Regions from separate parts of the Homo sapiens genome. Here regions 2, 3 and 4 are each linked to region 1. Evidence: promoter capture Hi-C in human tissues and cell types (Jung and others, 2019). All regions are on one chromosome and are shown on one strand. The core of a region is centred on a gene start or on the middle of the fragment in contact, and the rest is flanking DNA. Distances in the headings are between cores, read along the strand shown.

Region 1 (2,800 bases), core at 27-2,526:
TTAAAATAAGTTTTCATTTTGTTAGATAACTTTATAACGTTAAAAAATGGAAAAGTCCTGTAGGGAATGATTTGGAACATGGCCCAGATCCCAGTCACAGGACCAAGGCACTCAATCCCCCAGCTGCTGGGAGTGTTGGTTGCTTATTGCTCACAGCTGAGTCCCTTCCTGCACATCTCACTCTCCAAAAGCCTTAACCCAGCGTTTTGCTTCCTCCCCAGAAACATCCCACATTTAATGAGCAGTCAGTAAGAGGGTCTAAAGGTCTGCCCCCTGGCCTCAATTCAGGATGACTCTGAAAGGAAATCCCGGCTCCAGAGCCCTTACTGGATTGCCTGAGGCCTCTATTACAAATTGTTCACAGTTCAACTTCTTTCTCCCTCCGCCCAACCCGGCCTCCCTCACTCCATTATAGGTGTTGTTCTTAAGAGCACACTCCAATTACCCTCCTGCAAACCAGTCTCCCCCCCAACTCAGAGTCCAGGGAATTCTACCTAAGACGATTTTGAAAGCGGTCCTAGAAATCAGGCTCTAACATGGGATTTTGAAGCTAGATCACCTGCCAGCCAGCTGCCAATAAGAACCTCATCCCTGGTCAGTATTCAGAGCACCTGTCACGCTGCACGATGTGATTACTAACTTGAATCCACTCATGCTAAGCTGTGTCCCAACCTAGTTAACTGTATTTAAAATAAATAAACCACAGGACTTGATGCATGTACTTTATTGCACTGAGTTTTTCTTGCTATACCTTGGACAAGACTGCCACCTCCTGGAAGAGCCGATGAATACTGGGGACGAGGTGCAATTAGGGAATCGGTACTATGAAATTGCTTGCGTCTCAGCAGCAACTCCCTATCTCTCCGCGAACTTAAACCAATTCCTAACCTTTCTCAACCTCTGTGAACAGCTTTTTGCATGGAACCAAGACTTCAAAGAACTTGCGCATCACAATCTTTTTACGTGAAAATGTAAATACAAGTTAGCATTTGTGAAGCGTTATGTGCCAAATGCTTTAATTTTTAAGGCTCACAACAGCCTTATGAGGTAGGAACTATCATAAGCAGATCCACACTGCTGATGGAAAAATTAAGTTTAAGGGAACGTAAGGCGACGGCTCTGAGGCGGAATCGCCACTTGGAGTCGGGACTCAACTGCTGAGAGCGCAAGCTCCGTAACTACGTAACCGTCTCGGGCATGCGCAGAAAAACACTGAAGCACCTTCCCTAGGAGCTGTAAGTAGGTGGGTGTGGTGGGAGCCTCTGCAATCCCAGCATTCCCTTCGTGCCGCTACCAAGATGGCGGCGCCCATCTTGCGGTCCTTTTCCTGGGGCCGGTGGTCTGGTACCCTAAATCTCTCAGTATTGTTGCCCTTGGGGCTGCGTAAGGCCCACTCGGGCGCTCAGGGGTTACTGGCAGCGCAGAAGGCTCGAGGTCTGTTCAAGGACTTCTTCCCGGAGACGGGGACGAAAATAGAGCTCCCAGAGCTCTTCGACCGTGGCACGGCGAGTTTTCCCCAAACCATTTACTGTGGCTTCGACCCCACGGCAGACTCGCTTCATGTGGGTCATCTACTTGCGCTGCTGGGCCTGTTTCATTTGCAGCGAGCGGGCCACAACGTGATCGCGCTGGTGGGAGGCGCCACGGCGCGCCTGGGAGACCCGAGCGGCCGTACCAAGGAACGCGAGGCGCTGGAGACAGAGCGCGTGCGAGCCAACGCGCGAGCTCTGCGCCTAGGGCTTGAGGCCCTGGCGGCTAATCACCAGCAGCTTTTCACTGATGGGCGCTCCTGGGGCAGCTTCACTGTGCTGGACAACTCGGCCTGGTACCAGAAGCAGCACCTGGTGGACTTCCTGGCGGCAGTGGGGGGTCACTTCCGCATGGGGACGCTGCTGAGCCGGCAGAGCGTGCAGCTGCGGCTCAAGAGCCCCGAGGGCATGAGCTTGGCCGAGTTCTTTTACCAGGTGCTCCAGGCCTATGACTTCTATTACCTCTTCCAGCGTTATGGATGCAGGGTCCAGCTGGGCGGATCTGATCAACTAGGCAACATCATGTCCGGATATGAGTTCATCAACAAGTAAGTGCCTTTAAACCTTGGGGAAATCCTGGGACCAAATAATTTACACACTAGTAGCCTGTGATTCACTCTTAGGATTGTAGTTGCTGCCCTTCGTTCCAGCTCTTGTTGGTTTTATCCCCATTAAGGCTCTATAATGGCGTTAATAACACTGGCTAATAAGAATTAAAGGGCTGAATTAAGGGTATTAAGAGTAAACGGTGTATTCTAAAAATTAGCTGGGCGTGGTGATGCACGCCTGTAATCCCAGCTATTCGGGAGGCTGAGGCAGGAGAATCTCTTGAACCCGGGAGGCGAAGGTTTCAGTGAGCCGAGATCGCGCCACTGCACTCCAGCCTGGGGCAACAGAGGGAGACTCCGTCTCAAAAAAAAAAAAAAAAAAAAGGGAAACAGACCACTAGTGAAGATTTGGTCGGTCTGTTTTGCTTCGCCTAAGTCGTCCTCTCTAATTAGAGAAACTGCTTTTGTGTGTTTATACCAGAACGTGACTGGGCCTCCTTGAGTAGCTAGCCTCTGCTTTAGCTCTGCACCCTCCATGAAACTAGTGTTAGTCCTTGGTTGGTATCTCAAAAAGTTTTTTCAACTCCAAATAATTGACAAGTAATGCGGGTCTAATAGCATTTTCTTGAGAGAGGTGAAGGATAGGGCTAGCTCATGTGCAACAGAGCAAAGCACATGTTTAAAAGGCGTTTAGAAGATTTCCTTTAGTGTCTCTTCCTGACA
Region 2 (2,948 bases), core at 222-2,721, 1.2 Mb before region 1:
GATTGCATCCCCTGCCTTTTTTTTTTGTTTTTTTTGTAGATCTTTCTCCATCTCTTTATTTTGAGCCTATGTGTGTCTCTGCACATGAGATGGGTTTCCTGAATACAGCACACTGATGGGTCTTGACTCTTTATCCAATTTGCCAGTCTGTGTCTTTTAATTGGAGCATTTAGCCCATTTACATTTAAGGTTAATATTGTTATGTGTGAATTTGATCCTGTCATTATGATGTTAGCTGGTTATTTTGCTCGTTAGTTGATGCAGTTTCCTCCTAGCCTCAATGGTCTTTACATTTTGGCATGTTTTTGCTGTGGCTGGTACTGGTTTTTCCTTTCCATGTTTAGTGTTTCCTTCAGGAGCTCTTTTAGGGGAGGCCTGGTGGTGACAAAATTCCTCAGCATTTGTTGTCTGTAAAGTATTTTATTTCTCCTTCACTTATGAAGCTTAGTTTGGCTGGATATGAAATTCTGGGTTGAAAATTCTTTTCTTTAAGAATGTTGAATACTGGCCCCCACTGTCTTCTGGCTTGTAGAGTTTCTGCCGAGAGATCAGCTGTTAGTCTGATGGGCTTCCCTTTGTGAGTGACCCGACCTTTCTCTCTGGCTGCCCTTAACATTTTCTCCTTCATTTCAACTTTGGTGAATCTGACAATTATGTGTCTTGGAGTTGCTCTTCTCAAGGAGTATCTTTGTGTTGTTCTCTGTATTTTCTGAATTTCAATACTGTCCTGCCTTGCTAGATTGGGGAATTTCACCTGGATAATATCTAACAGAGTGTTTTCCAACTTGGTTCAATTCTCCCCATCACTTTCAGGTACACCAATCAGACATAGATTTGGTCTTTTCACATAGTCCCATATTCCTTGGAGGCCTTATTGGTTTCTTTTTATTTTTTTTCTCTAAACTTCTCTTCTCGCTTCATTTCATTCATTTGATCTTCCATCACTGATACCCATTCTTCCAGTTGATCCAATCGGCTACTGAGGCTTGTGCGTTCGTCACGTAGTTCTCGTGCCTTGGTTTTCAGCTCCATCAGGTCCTTTAAGGACTTCTCTGCATTGGTTATTCTAGTTAGCCATTCGTCTAATCTTTTTTCAAGGTTTTTATCTTCTTTGCCATGGGTTCAAACTTCCTCCTTAACTCGGAGAAGTTTGATCATCTGAAGCCTTCTTCTCTCAACTTGTCAAAGTCATCCTCCATCCAGCTTTGTTCCATTCCTGGTGAGGAGCTGCGTTCCTTTGGAGCAGGAGAGACGCTCTGATTTTTAGAGTTTCCAGTTTTTCTGCTCTGTTTTTTCCCCATCTTTGTGGTTTTATCTACCTTTGGTCTTTGTGATGATGACGTAGAGATGGGGTTTTGGTGTGGATGTCCTTTCCATTTGTTAGTTTTCCTTTTACCAGTCAGGACCCTCAGCTGCAAGTCTGTTGGAGTTTCCTGGAGGTCCACTCCAGACCCTGTTTTCCTTGGTATCAGCAATGGAGGCTGCAGAACAGTGGATATTGGTGAAGAGCAAATGTTGCTGCCTGATCGTTCCTCTGGAAGTTTTGTCTCAGAGGAGTACCCGGCTGTGTGAGGTGTCAGTCTGCCCCTACTGGGCGGTGCCTCCCAGTTAGGCTACTCAGGGGTCAGGGACCCACTTGGGGAGGCAGTCTGTCCATTCTCAGATCTCCAGCTGCGTGCTGGGAGAACCACTACTCTCTTCAAAGCTGTCAGACCACTAATCTCTTCAAAGCTGACAGGGACATTTAAGTCTGCACAGTTTTCTGCTGCCTTTTGTTTGGCTATGCCCTGCCCCCAGAGGTGGAGTCTACAGAGACAGGCAGGCCTCCTTGAGATGCAGTGGGCTCCACCCAGTTCGAGCCTCCCAGCCACTTTGTTTACCTACTCAAGCCTCAGCAATGGTGGACACACCTCCCCCAGCCTTGCTGCCGCCTTGCAGTTTGATCTCAGACTGCTGTGCTAGCAATGAGCAAGGCTCCATGGGTGTAGCACCTTCCAAGCCATGCGCAGGATATAATCTCCTGGTGTGCCATTTGCTAAGACTTTTGGAAAAGCACAGTATTAGGGTGGGAGTGACCTGATTTTCCAGATGCCATCTGTCACCTCATTCTTTGCCTAGGAAAGGAATTCCCTGACCCCTTGCACTTCCCGGGTGAGGTGATGCCTCACCCTGCTTCAGCTCATGCTCAGTATGCTGCACCCACTGTCCTGCGCCCACTGTCCGACACTCCCCAGTGAGATGAACCTGGTACCTCAGTTGGAAATGCAGAAATCACCCATCTTCTGCATCGCTCATGCTGGGAGCTATAGACTCTTTATCCAGTTTGCCAGTCTGTGTCTTTTAATTGGAGCATTTAGCCCATTTACATTTAAGGTTAATATTTTTATGTGTAAATTTGATCCTGTAATTATGATGTTAGCTGGTTATTTTGCTCGTTAGTTGATGCAGTTTCTTCCTAGCATTGATGGCCTTTACAATTTGTCATGTTTTTGCAGTGACTGGTACAGTTGTTCCTTTCTATATTTAGTTCTTCCTTCAGGAGCTCTTGTAGAGCAGGCCTGGTGGTGACAAAATCTCTCAGCATTTGCTTGTCTGTAAAGGATTTTATTTCTCCTTCACTTATGAAGCTTAATTTGGCTGGATATGAAATTCTGGGTTGAAAAATCTTTTCTTTAAGAAAGTTGAATATTGGCCCCCACTCTCTTCTGGCTGGTAGAGTTTCTACCGAGAGATCAGCTATTAGTCTGATGGGCTTCCCTTTGTGGGTCACCTGACCTTTCTCTCTGGCTGCCCTTAACATTTTTTCCTTCATTTCAACTTTGGTGAATCTCACAATTATGTGTCTTGGACTTGCTCTTCTTGAGGAGTATCTTTGTGGTGTTCTCTGTATTTCCTGAATTTGAATGTTGGCCTGCCTTGCTAAGTTCTCCTGGATAATATCCTGAAGA
Region 3 (3,016 bases), core at 27-2,526, 1.2 Mb before region 1:
CACATCCTCATGGCCTCCACGCTAGGCTTGGATGAAGAAAAGGAAACCCAATCCTAGCCCTTCACTTTGACAAGGAGCAGACTGAAGCTTCCCACACAGCAATAACCACTTCCAAATACCCTCTTTATAAATTTTCTAGGAATCTTTTTGTCCTCAATGTAAATGATGGAGTTAAGAATTATTTTTTCTTTTATCCACTTTAAAAGTGCAGTAAAATGCTGTCATTTTGGAAGGTATGTGTATTGTCTTTATGCTTCAGCTAACATGGAGACAAGAAAAATACCATTTTAACATCCTGTGAGGTTTGCATTGGTTAATATGATAAAAGGATCATTGGTTACCAGGTAAAACAAATTTATTTTTGTGGTGGGGGTGGGTGGGAGGAAAAATGAAATGGAGGAGGACTATGCAGATATTATGGCGTCTCCCCAATCCAGTACTGCAAACGAAGTCATCTGGTTAAAGGAAATAACTTTTTTTTTCGTGAGAGATTTGGTGAGATTCTTGGAAGGAAATAATTTCATGAGAGTGTTCAGAGAGATTTGTAAAACTCTGGGTACAAGAAGAGCTCCAGTGGAAAAGTGTGTCTCAAACCTAGGGAGGAGGCTCTTCTACCTTTCTCTGGGTGAAAATGACATATGTGGTGAGAGCGTACATGAAAATCTTCTTGAGGATGGATAATATTCCTTGTCTTCATGGGCAGTGACAGTGCTTAAGCTTTTCCAATTGTCTTTACAAGGTGTAAAATGGGATTATGGAAATGTATGTGTCATACATGATACATTGCAGTGACCGTATCTATTACATGCTCTTAAGATCCAATTTTAGGTATTCCCAGAAATAACAGAGCCAAATTTTGCATGGGACTAATTTTTGGTAGTGAAAATATTGAGTCTTGTCTATGTATATCAGTCAGGCTTCAGGCAAGAAAATGGAAAACATTCTATATTGTAATTACAAAGAATTGTAACACATGAAATTAGAGGCATATATAACTGCTATCTAGGATGAGGAATCAGAATTCAGAAAAGATGATCTCAATTTGAACTCTGAGGTGGATTTCACCTAGAAATTGCTGGGAATTTAAGAACCTCTGGGAGCCTCCCACTGACTATCTTAATTTGCAGAACCAACTCAAGTGATTAACAAAAATTTACTATAATATGTTTCAGCTAAACTGTAGTGAGTGATTCACAGGAGACTGTCAGAAAATCATATAACTGCCATCTGCCTACTTGTCTGCCTGCAACTGTCTCTTTTAGTCACATCTTCTAAACAGTGTGAGATGGTTTCTCATTGACAGATGTTAACATAGAACCACATAGGGAAGAAGATGTTGGGAAATTTATTTAGAAGGATTCCTAGCAGGGGTGAAGATGATGTTGAGTTAACAAAAGACAATCCAATGTTCTATCACAATTGAGGAATACACAGAAATACAAAAGATCCTCAGACTATTACAAAACACCTCTATGCACACAAACTAGAAAATCTAGAGGAAACGGGTAAATTCTTAGAAACATGCAATTTCCACAGATTGAATCGGGAATAAATTGAAACTCTAAATAGGCCAATATCAAGTTCCAAAATTGAATCTGTAATAATAATTTAAAAAACCCTATGAACCAAATAAGGCCCTGGATTCACAGCCGAATTCTACCAGATGTACAAAAAAGAGCTGGTACCAATTCTACTGAAACTATTCCTAAGGAAGAGAAACTCCTCCCTAGCTCCTTCTGTGAAGCAGGCATCATCCAATGATAATGCTGGCCAATATCCTTGTTGGCCAAAGATTCAGTTGATGAATCCAGTTTTCCAAAATAGATGATTCTGATGATTCACATGATTCTGATGTTAGTTCTGTTTAGAAATAACTCCAAGAACAGTTTTTACATTTTATTTTCATATTGAAAATCAGTCAGATTTGCTTCAGCCTCAAAGAGCATGTTTATGTAAAATTAAATGAACTCTGGCAGCAAGCTGCACTTTTTTTTCTAAATGGGAAAAGTGTTAAAGATGTCATCCCATTATCATGAGTTTTAAAAAATGTATTTCTGTTCTTCAAATATACCTGATGATGATACAGGCCTATACCCTTGATGGATGTAAATGCAAAAATCCTCAACAAAATACTGGCAAACTTGAGTCCAGCAGCATATCACAAAGTTAATTTACCATAGACCCACAGACTAATAGGCTTCATTCATAAATTGCAAAGTTGATTTAATATATGCAAATCAATAAATGTGATTCACAAATAATCAGAATTAAAAACAAAAACCATATGATCATCCCAACAGATACAGAAAAGCTTTCAATAAAATCTAACACCTCTTCATGATTAAAAAAAAAACCCTCAAGAAAATAGGCATTGAAGGAACATACCTCGAAACAATAAGAGCCTTTTATGACAAACTCACAGCCAACATCACACTGGACAGACAAAAACTGAAAGCATTCCCCTTTCAGAGATCTAGAATAGATAAGAATGCTCACTGTCATCACTCCTATTCAACATAGCACTAGATATGCTAGCCAGAGCAATCTGACAAGAGAAATAAAATCATCCAAATAGGAAAACAAGTCACACTATCTCTCTTCACTAATGATACGATTCTAAAACTGTGCTTTATTTGTTAACAGAAATAGGGACCAGTGTAAATCTAACCGGTATGAAACCCATAGGGCCAGGAGGGACCGTTAGACAAGGGAACAGCAGTGCCATTCATGAAGCTATTGTCTCTGAGCTCCAAACACACTGTTCCATACTCTATTTCACTAGGGCTCAATCTCTATACACCACAATTCTACTTTTCTAACTGGTATTCTTTAGGCTTTGTTGATAGGGTGTGCTAGAGAGACATTGAAAGCCTAGAAGAAGAAGAAGAAACTTGCTCCTCCCTGTGCATTTATCTGCTTCATGACTGCTTTCTTTTCCTGTGTGTTTCATTCTAGTAATGATTTTTCACTCCAGGAGTACAATTCCTTCTCATAGCAGCAGAGGCGTCTAATTTGC
Region 4 (2,923 bases), core at 387-2,886, 1.0 Mb after region 1:
GGTGGGAGAATCGCTTGAACCTGGGAGGCAGAGGTTGCGGTGAGCCGAGCTTGCACCATTGCACTCCAGTTTGGGCAACAAGAGCGAAACTCCGTCCCCCCAAAAAAAAAAAAAAGAAATTACTCTTTTAGTTTTAGCTTCGTTGACAGGTAGAATGGTGATTAGACTATTATGGAGGAAGAAGTGTCTTACGGGGAAAATGAATCAGAATATCCAGTAGAAATATCAAGCAGGCAGTTAGAATATAATTTTGAATCTGAAAGAAAGATCAAGGATTAGGCTGGGTGCAGTGGCTCATGCCTGTAATCCCAACACTTTGGGAGGCCGAGGCAGGTGAATCACTTGAGGTCAGGAGTTCGAGACCAGCCTAGCCAACATGGTGAAACCCTGTCTCTACCAAAAATACAAAAAAAATTAACTGGGCATGGTGGTGCACATGTGTATTCCCAGCTACTTGGGAGGCTGAGACAGGAGAATTGCTTGAACCCAGGAGGCGGAGCTTGGAGTGAGCCAAGATGGTGCTACTGCACTCCAGCCTGGGCAACAGAGTGAGACTCCATCTCTAAATAAATAAATACATAAATACACAAATAAAATGAAGAGAGATCAAGGATTGAAACTAAGATTGGGGGTATAACTTTGTAGATGATAGGAAGCCATGGTTAAGTTTAAAAGAGGGCTATAGAGAGAAAAAAAGAAAGTCAAGGACAAAATTTTATGTAACACTTACATTAGAAGCAGTCCATGTTGCCAAAACTCTTTTATTTGTTAGATCAATTCACCATATGATGATTTGGCCAAATAGTAATAGGTTGTTTCTTTTAAGTATAAAACGTAGAGCAACTATTATTGGTTGGGATATCCACCCGTCTCCCCAATTGTTTTACAGCTTTTAAAGATTATAAGTTTTAGCTGACTTCTTTTCATTTTGTCTTGAGAAATGAGACTGCCTGTGCCAACTGTGGGGCCTGAGAATCAACACCACTTATGTCAACCTAACTTTTTGCTCTAGGAAATTTTTGCAAATCAGTTTATCTAAATAAACAGCTATCAGGACAAACATTTTGATTTTTAGGACAAACATTATGTTTATCTGGACAGATTGCTCATCAAGCCTGGCTTTTTGTGTCCATCCGTTTTAAACTAAGTCACAAACTTTGCCTAATCCTTACCCATTCGCCACTGTGGGGGGAGAAGCACCCACTTAAACTGGTGGCGTTTATATCCCAGAAACTTATGTATACTCTTGCCTAACATTCCTCTATTGAAATGCTACCAAAACCCTGTCAAGATGATCTCCCTTGCTGTAGTAAATGTAATACATGATTTGACAAATTTAATCAATTTGTTTGACCAGCAGGGTTTCTGGATGGGCTTTGTGGCCATTCAATAGTCCTCCCAGAATTTTAAGAACTATTTGATTTGTTTCTGTCCCAACTCCCTGCTATTGCAGCTGGAGGGAACTGGAGCAGAAAGAGGAAACCATTTACTTTGGGAAACACATGGTACAGCCTCTGCACTGCTGAGCTCAGAGAAGAGCATACTAAAGGGCTAAGATGAAAGAGACTGAGAGAAAAAGGTGGCGGTGGGGGGCAGAGAGCCATGTTGTAGGAAAAAGGTAACATATTGAAATATACCTGAAATCTTGCATAAAGCAAAATACAGTAGTCTCTCCTTATGTGCTGTTTTGTTTCGGCAGTTTCAGGTACCTGCAGTCAACCATGGTAAAAAAATATATATATATGTTAAATGGAAAATTCTAGGAAGAAACAATTCATAAATTTTAAATTATGCACCATTTTGAGTAGCATGATGAAATCTCATGCCACCCTGCCCTGTCTGCCCAGGATGTGAATTCTGCCTTCGTTCAGCATATCCATGCTGTCCATTTAGTAGCCTTCTTGGTTATCAGAGCTATTGTCGCAGGGCTACTGCATTCACATAACCCTGATATTACTTAACAATTGCACCAGAGCACAAGAGTACTGATGCTGGCATATTGTTACATGTATTTTTTATTTTTCCACCCAATCCTTGTAGATGTTGTTATAACTGTTCTATTTTATTGTTGTTGTTGTTCATCTCTTACTGTGCCTAATTTATATATTAAACTTTACCACAGGTATGTCTGCATAGTAAATGCAGGGTGTATATATAGGATTTAGGATTCAGTACTATCCATGATTTCAGGTGTCCACAGGGAGTCTTAGAATGTTTTTCCCATGGATAAAGGGGATCTGCTATATAACAGGAGTGATTGTCAGTCACTTCAAATGCTTTACTTTTCTCTAATCCCCTACTCACAGAGGTCATGTGCAAGAGGAACAAGAGCATTTTTATAAAGTTTACACAGACTTACCTTGTTTCCTTGCTTGACTGGTGTGGGTCACTGTAGGGGTACTTGGTGAGCAGTATCCTCAACCAAGTGGTAGTTATCTTTGTTATCTAGGGCAGGAGTTGGTAACCTTTCTGTGAAGGGCCAGAGAGTAATATTTTCAGCTTTGTAGGCTACACACCCTCTGACACAGTTACTCAGCTCTGCCATTGTAGAACACAAGCAGCCACAGACAACACATAAAGAAATGGCAGCAGCCTGAGGATGATAAGGGGTGTGAAACATCTGTTGAATACCTTGACTATCGGCTCATTGTTGAGCAACCTTTGCAGTAAAAGACCTATCATTGTCAGAGTGAAAGTGGTCTGCTTTGGGAGGCCGAGGCGGGTGGATCACGAGGTCAGGAGATCGAGACCATCCTGGCTAACATGGTGAAACCCTGTCTCTACTAAAAATACAAAAACTTAGCCGGGCATAGTGGCGGGCGCCTGTAGTCTCAGCTACTCAGGAGGCTGAGGCAGGAGAATGGTGTGAACCCAGGAGGCGGAGCTTGCAGTGAGCCGAGATCGCAGTGGTCTGGAAAACCAA

The links. Contacts are between HindIII fragments. The study calls those that stand out against the background at their distance.
Region 2: a contact is called between a fragment that was not itself captured here and the fragment with the promoter of YARS2 in region 1, in 1 of the 25 tissues and cell types used here (dorsolateral prefrontal cortex).
Region 3: a fragment that was not itself captured here is called in contact with the fragment with the promoter of YARS2 in region 1 in 1 of the 25 tissues and cell types used here (dorsolateral prefrontal cortex).
Region 4: a contact is called between a fragment that was not itself captured here and the fragment with the promoter of YARS2 in region 1, in 1 of the 25 tissues and cell types used here (dorsolateral prefrontal cortex).

The regions. Positions count from the first base shown.
Region 1 is chr12:32,754,373-32,757,172 of GRCh38, reverse strand. YARS2 (tyrosyl-tRNA synthetase 2) reads left to right here and starts at 1,276. Exons shown (of 5, transcript NM_001040436.3): 1 at 1,276-2,077. The coding sequence starts at 1,299. RefSeq lists enhancers at 417-1,056, 1,261-1,490, 1,511-1,610, 1,057-1,696, 1,981-2,140 and 1 more. The HindIII fragment of the contact is 8,220 bases long and covers 1-2,800 here.
Region 2 is chr12:33,929,818-33,932,765 of GRCh38, reverse strand. No RefSeq gene overlaps it. Among named protein-coding and RNA genes, the nearest start is that of ALG10, 91 kb to the left of the region's middle. The HindIII fragment of the contact is 3,937 bases long and covers 1-2,948 here.
Region 3 is chr12:33,962,040-33,965,055 of GRCh38, reverse strand. No RefSeq gene overlaps it. Among named protein-coding and RNA genes, the nearest start is that of ALG10, 59 kb to the left of the region's middle. The HindIII fragment of the contact is 4,025 bases long and covers 1-3,016 here.
Region 4 is chr12:31,723,354-31,726,276 of GRCh38, reverse strand. All of the region lies in intron 1 of AMN1 (antagonist of mitotic exit network 1 homolog), which reads left to right. LOC105369722 (a long non-coding RNA gene) reads right to left here and starts at 2,488. Exons shown (of 3, transcript XR_931497.3): 1 at 2,360-2,488; 2 at 1,638-1,709. The HindIII fragment of the contact is 6,979 bases long and covers 1-2,923 here.